Linked DNA regions of Homo sapiens: region 2 is linked to region 1. Evidence: promoter capture Hi-C in 16 types of primary human blood cells and fetal thymus (Javierre and others, 2016). All regions are on one chromosome and are shown on one strand. The core of a region is centred on a gene start or on the middle of the fragment in contact, and the rest is flanking DNA. Distances in the headings are between cores, read along the strand shown.

Evidence for each region. The method cuts DNA at HindIII sites, captures the fragments that hold promoters and counts their contacts. A CHiCAGO score of 5 or more calls a contact.
Region 2: a contact is called between a fragment that was not itself captured here and the fragment with the promoter of MSANTD3-TMEFF1 in region 1, in 1 of 17 cell types (M1 macrophages). The highest score is 5.4, in M1 macrophages.

Annotation. Positions count from the first base shown.
Region 1 is chr9:100,440,119-100,443,411 of GRCh38, forward strand. It overlaps MSANTD3-TMEFF1 (MSANTD3-TMEFF1 readthrough), which reads left to right and starts at 1,788. Exons shown (of 10, transcript NM_001198812.1): 1 at 1,788-2,238. The coding sequence starts at 1,821. It overlaps MSANTD3 (Myb/SANT DNA binding domain containing 3), which reads left to right. Exons shown (of 3, transcript NM_080655.3): 2 at 1,788-2,238. The coding sequence starts at 1,821. The HindIII fragment of the contact is 4,285 bases long and covers 1,719-3,293 here.
Region 2 is chr9:100,336,145-100,339,437 of GRCh38, forward strand. All of the region lies in intron 5 of TEX10 (testis expressed 10), which reads right to left. Among named protein-coding and RNA genes, the nearest start is that of TEX10, 15 kb to the right of the region's middle. The HindIII fragment of the contact is 992 bases long and covers 1,332-2,323 here.

The DNA.
Region 1 (3,293 bases), core at 538-3,037:
TGGAAGAAGACATTCACTAAGCACCTGTTGTGTGAAACATGCTGACCCGGCACTGTAGAGGATGACAAAGTGACTTATGGGAATCATGGTTGAATCATTTGGAGTGACCCAAGGCAAGAGGCCGAGAAACAGCTGTGGAATGATTCTAAGAATACCAGACTCCTAGGGCAGTCCAAGCTCTGGACTTTCTATGTCACCATCTTTGTGATCTTGTGCAATCCACTTCACCTTTCTGACCCTTTCTTCTCTCAGCTGGAAAGAGACTTGAGGAATGTAAAGAGGGACACTGGACTCAGTCTCTTAAGTGCCTAGGCCCTTTCACATCTGAAATTACATACATTGTTTACTTAGGATTTTAAAAAACAGCCCGCATACCTGAAGGATCACAGACTCCAACCCCTCATTTTAAAGATGAAAAAACTGAGGTTGCCATTGCTCCAGGTACATGCCACAGAGTGATGAAAACGTCAAATTTTTTTTTTTTTTTTTTTGAGACAGTGTCTCCTTTGTCATCCAGGCTGGAGTGCGGTGGTGCAAACATGGCTCACTGTAGCCTCGACCTCCTGGGCTCAAGCAGTCCTCCTACCTCAGCCTCCCAAGTAGCTGGGATTACAGGTGCATGCCACCACACCTGGCTATTTTTTTTTCTTCTTTTTCTTCCCTTTTTTTTTTTTTTTTTTTTTTTTTTTAGAGACAGGGTTTTGCCTTGTTGCCCATGCTAGTCTCGAACTCCTGGGCTCAAGCAATTTACCTACCTCAGCCTCCCAAAGTGCTGGGATTACAGGTGTGAGCCACTGTGCCCGGCTGTACATCTTTTTTTTTTTTTTTTTTTTTTGAGATGGAGTCTCACTCTGTCACCCAGGCTGGATTGCAGTGGCACGATCTTGGCTCACTGCAACCTCCACCTCCCGGGTTCAAGTAGTTCTCCTGCCTCAGCCTCCTGACTAGCTGGGATTACAGGCGCACGCCACCACGCCCAGCTAATTTTTGTATTTTTAGTAGAGATGGGGTTTCACCATGCTGGTCAGGCTGGTCTGGAACTCCTGACCTCGTGGTCCGCCTGCCTCAGCCTCCCACATCATATTTTATATTTGAGTACACGGTGGCTTCTTTTGTCCTCAGCTGTGACAAAAGTTTTGGAAAGCTGTTTAGTTCTAAAACTGGCTAACATGATTTGGGGGAATAATCAGTTCCCTAATATTAAAGAAAAATCAATTAACAAATCAGAGTCTAGGCCGGGCGTGGTGGCTCACGCCTGTAATCCCAGCACTTTGGGAGGCCGAGGCAGGCAGATCACTTGAGGTCAGTAGTTCGAGACCAGCCTGCCCAACATGGTGAAACCCTGTCTCTACCAAAACTACAAAAAAAAAATTAGCCGGGCGTGGTGACAGGCACCTGTAATCCCAGCTACTCAGGAGGCTGAGGCAGGAGAATTGCCTGAACCCGGGAGGTGGAGGTTGCAGTGAGCTCAGGTCGTGCCACTGCACTCCAGCCTGGGTGACAAGAGCGAGACTCCGTTTCAAAAAAAAAATGTTCAACTTTTCTTTTTTTGCTGTTATATACCAGATAGTCACAGTATAGCCACAACAATCCACTTTGAAATAAAACCCCATTCCTAGTACATTTCTAAATATTCTCCAGAGTCCTGAATATCATAATTCAACCTTAATGGAAAAGAAAGTACTGTATTTCAGACAAGGGAATCAAGTCAGGAATTAAGCTTCAGTGATTTATAGGCATTGTTTTTGCTGGAGTTGGTAATCATTGCTTCAAACTTCCTTTTACAGGATAGCTAGCGGCCAGGAGAAATACAGTGGAAAATGCAAAACAACGAAATTATAAAGCCTGCCAAATACTTCTCAGAATTGGAAAAGAGCATCCTGCTGGCTTTAGTAGAAAAGTATAAATATGTGCTGGAATGTAAGAAAAGTGATGCGCGAACTATTGCCCTTAAGCAGCGTACCTGGCAGGCGCTGGCCCACGAATACAACTCTCAGCCCAGCGTGTCCCTGCGGGATTTCAAACAGCTGAAGAAGTGCTGGGAGAACATCAAGGCTCGGACCAAAAAAATTATGGCCCATGAAAGGAGAGAGAAAGTGAAACGGAGCGTCAGCCCTCTCCTGAGTACCCACGTCCTAGGGAAGGAGAAGATCGCCAGCATGCTGCCGGAGCAGCTCTACTTCCTGCAGAGCCCCCCGGAGGAGGAGCCCGAATACCACCCCGACGCCTCAGCCCAAGGTATCCGTTCCTGATGCCAGTGTGCACGCTCTCACTGGGTATCTGTTTGACATTTTAATTTTAAAACCCTCCACTTTGAGGGAACTTCTAAAAATGAAACTTTTGTATCAAATCCAATTTTCCTAATTCAAGATCTCAGGATTATATAGGACATTCAAAGTCTTATAGAAGTGGGCGTGGTGGCTCGTGCCTGTAATCCCAGCACTTTGGGATGCTGAGGCGGGAGGATGGCTTGAGCTCAGGAATTTGAGACCACCCTGGGCAACAAAGTGAGACCCCTGTTTCTACAAAAAATAGAAAAAATTAGCTGGGCATGGTAGCATGCACCTGTAGTTCCAGCTACTCGGGAGGCTGAGGCTGGAGGATAACTTGAGCCCAGGAGGTGGAAGCTGCAGTGAGCTGTTATTGCGCCACTGCACTCCAGCCTGGGTGACGGAGTGAGACCCTGTCTCAAAAAAAAAAAAAAAAAAAAAGTAATATATAAAAACAAAAGTACTTGTTTACATCATTGTGCTAGCTCTCTTGGAGACTTTATTATTACTTAAACATAAAGAAAAATAAGGGACTGGATTAATGGAGTTCTTATTAGTGAGGTGCTGCAGTTGCCTATCAGCCTGTCTCAAATATGTTAAAGAGAATTGTATGAAGATTTGTATTCATCCACTCAATTTCACTTTTTTCAAAAAATATTTTTGGAGGTCCTTATTATTTGCAAAGCATTGCAGTAGGCCACTCAAAAGGCCATATTAAAAGAGTCAACCGGCTGGGTTCTGTGGCTCATGCCTGTAATCCCAGCACTTTGGGAGGCTGAGGTGGGCGGATCACCCGAGGTTGGGAGTTTGAGACCAGCCTGACCAACATGGAGAAACCCCGTCTCTACTAAAAATACAAAATTAGCCGGGCGTGGTGGTGCATGCCTGTAATCCCAGCTACTTGGGAGGCTGAGGCAGGAGAATCGCTTGAATTCGGGAGGCAGAGGTTGTGGTGAGCCAAGATAGCACCACTGCACGCCAGCGTAGGCAACAAGAGCAAAACTCCATCTCAAAAAAAAAAAA
Region 2 (3,293 bases), core at 578-3,077, 100 kb before region 1:
CAACAAGAATGAAACTCCATCTCAAAAAAATGAATAAATAAATAAACAAAAAATAAAAATACACTGGGGGTACCTGAATAAGAAGTGCAAACAACATTGTCCTAGATTAGGGGTCCCCAACCCCTGGCCATAGACTGGCACCAGTCCGCGGCCTGTTAGGAACCAGGCCACACAGCAGGAGGTGAGCGGCAGGCAAATGAAGATTGTTCTGTATTTACAGCTGCTCCCCATTGCTCACATTACTGCCTGAGCTCTGCCTCCTGTCATATCAGTAGTGGCATTCGATTCTCATAGGAGCATGAACCCTATTGTGAACTGTGCATGCGAGGGATCTACGTTGCATGCTCCTTATGAGAATCTAACACCTGAAGATCTGTCACTGTCTCCCATCACCCCCAGATAAGACTGTCTAGTTGCAGGAAAACAAGCTCAGGGCTCCCACTGATTCTACATTATGGTAAACTGTAAAACTGTTTCATTACGTATTACAATGTAATAATAGAAATAAAGCGCACAATAAATGTAATGCACTTGAATCATCCCAAAAACCAAGCCTCCCACCTCAGGTCCATGGAAACATTGTTTTCCATGAAACTAGTCCCTCATAGCAAAATGGTTGGGGACCGTTGGCCTAGACCACTGTTGACTTCCCTAACTGTGATTTGTGCTGCTGTTCACAGGCTATTTGCTAAGTATTTAATGCATTTACTTAAGAGTAGCCTGTAGGCTCCCCAAAAATCAATCATGAGGGGGGAATCTTTTGAAAAGTAGGTCACACTGGCAATCCATCTTTGCTAAAAATCCCTCAATTTCATCATCTCAACCTCCTCATAAAGTTAATTCCTTTTCTTTTTTCCCATTTATATCTCAGCACGCTGTCACTTCCATCAGGGCAGCCTTCTCTAAGATGGTCCTCCCCTCATGAAAGATCAGGACCAACTCTTTGTTACATACTCCTGTATTAACCTAAGCTCTTCCTTCACTATATCTATCACAATCAGTCACTGATTAAAGAATCAAGTGAAATAAATGTCTTTTTCATTAGACCGTACTCCATGAGAGCTGGTACTCTACCTATTTCCTTTACCATGAAATGCTCAGCAACTAGTACAATAAGTGCCTTGCACATAAGAGTCCAATAAATTTCTTGAATGATGATATGCTGATACATTTTTCAATAATTTATTTACACTGAAGTCTACTAAATCCTAAACATCTAAACCACAATTTAATCACATTTTGATGAAAATTATACATGGAATGCCTTATTTGAAAAAATACACATACATATAATTCTCCATCAATACTTTGAGAGTTCATGGATTTTCTGAAGCTTACCTATGAATCCCAGAAGAAAAACTCTAATAAGAAAATTGTATGGGGGGAAAAAGTCTAACATCTTGCTCAATAAAGTGTCTCTTTGATTCTGTCCCCTCAACTCCAGAAGCTCCCTAAAACAGTTCTGACTGAACCAAAAGTCTTCAATGCCAAAAGGATCTGAAAGATGAACTCCTGAGTCAAGAAACGGCTTCCACATCAAGGCCAGTGAAGAGCAGAAATCAGACTGGACCCAGATCCACGCTCTCCATCCATTTCCTAATCCTGTAGCTTTCTTGTATGCTATCTCCTCTAGTTACAAAAGTCTCATCCCTTGCATTTCTGCCTCCTGAAACCATATCCACGTTCATACCCAGTTCAAATACTACTCTTCAATTTAGCTTTGTCTGTTTATCCTAATAAGCAGTTATCTGTCTCTTCCTATGAATTCTTATAGCACTTAGTTGTATAGTTCTAATGATACTTTTATACTGCTTTGTGTTACATATGTAAATATACACATGTAAATGTTAGTTACAGAGCTACTGTTTCTCAGCTTCAAAGTCGCCCTCTATACTCTGCTTTGTGACCCTGGGGTTGGGACTCTGCGACCCACATTTTTTCCTTTGTAGATGGCTTATTAGGCTCTGCCAATAAAGGGGTGGTACAAAGGGCCTAGAAAGCTGTAAGAGGAAGACGGGACACTCTTCTGTTTGCTTGCTAGTTTTGTTTTTGTTTCCTATTGCTGCCAGTGTTGATCGGCAGCTCTTCTTCAGGTCATTTGCAGTTCATTATAGTAGCCATAGCAGACTCCAGTTTGTAGTTTTTCTGACACAGAACCAGAATCATCATGCCTCTAAGAAACGTCAGCACCAGCCAGCCAGCACCCGCTTTTCAGAGTACTGGGCCCCAGCCCTATGGGGTTCTTGCTCTCAGCTAAAGATATCAGTACCTGCCTGAGGAGCATACCCTTCTGAGAGGTTAGAGTTTTGGCTCCCTTCCTCCAAGCTTCTTCCCTTCTTTGTTCTCCCAGTTCTACAAGTAGTATCTGCTTCTTGCAGTTGGTACCTCCATAATACCTAACTTCCTTTGCATACCTAGTTAACAATTATTTACATTAAATTCTCTTGTTAAAAAAATCACTGTCGGCCAGGCACGGTAGCTCACACCTGTAATCCCAGCACTTTGGGAGGCCAAGGTAGTGGGTCACGAGGTAAGGAGTTTGAGACCATCCTGGCTAATATGGTGAAAGAAACCCCATCTCTACTAAAAATACAAAAATTAGCCAGGCGTGGTGGTGCATGCCTATAATCCCAGCTACTCAGGAGGCTGAAGCAGGAGAATCGCTTGAACCTGGGAGATGGAGGTTGCAGTGAGCCAAGATTACGCCTTGCACTCCAGCCTGGGCAACAGAGTGAGACTCTGTCTCAAAAAAAAATCACTGTCGCAGTTTCTGTTTCATGACTGGACCCTGACACATTCTTTTATGATTCAGAATATAATTGCTTAAGGCTGGGTACAGTGGCTCATGCCTATAATTACAGCACTTTGGGAGGCTGAGGTGGGCAGATCACTTGAGGTCGGGAGTTCAAGACCAGCCTGGCCAATATGGTGAAACCCTGTCTCTACTAAAAATACAAAAATTAATCAGGCATGGTGGTGAACACTTGTAATCCCAGCTACTTGGGAGGCTGAGGCAGCAGGATCACTTGAACCCAGGAGGCAGAGGTTGCAGTAAGCTGAGATGGTGCCACAGCCTGGGAAACAGAGTGAGACTCCATCTCAAAAAAAAAAAAAAAAAAAAAAAAAAAAAGTATATATATATATATACATATATATATACACATATTTGTTTTTTATATATATTTATATATTATATATAATATACATTTTTATATATTTATATATATTTATATATATTTATAAAACTGCTTAGGAGGGCAAGGTACAAGGCTTAAAAAATCTGATCCTCTCTA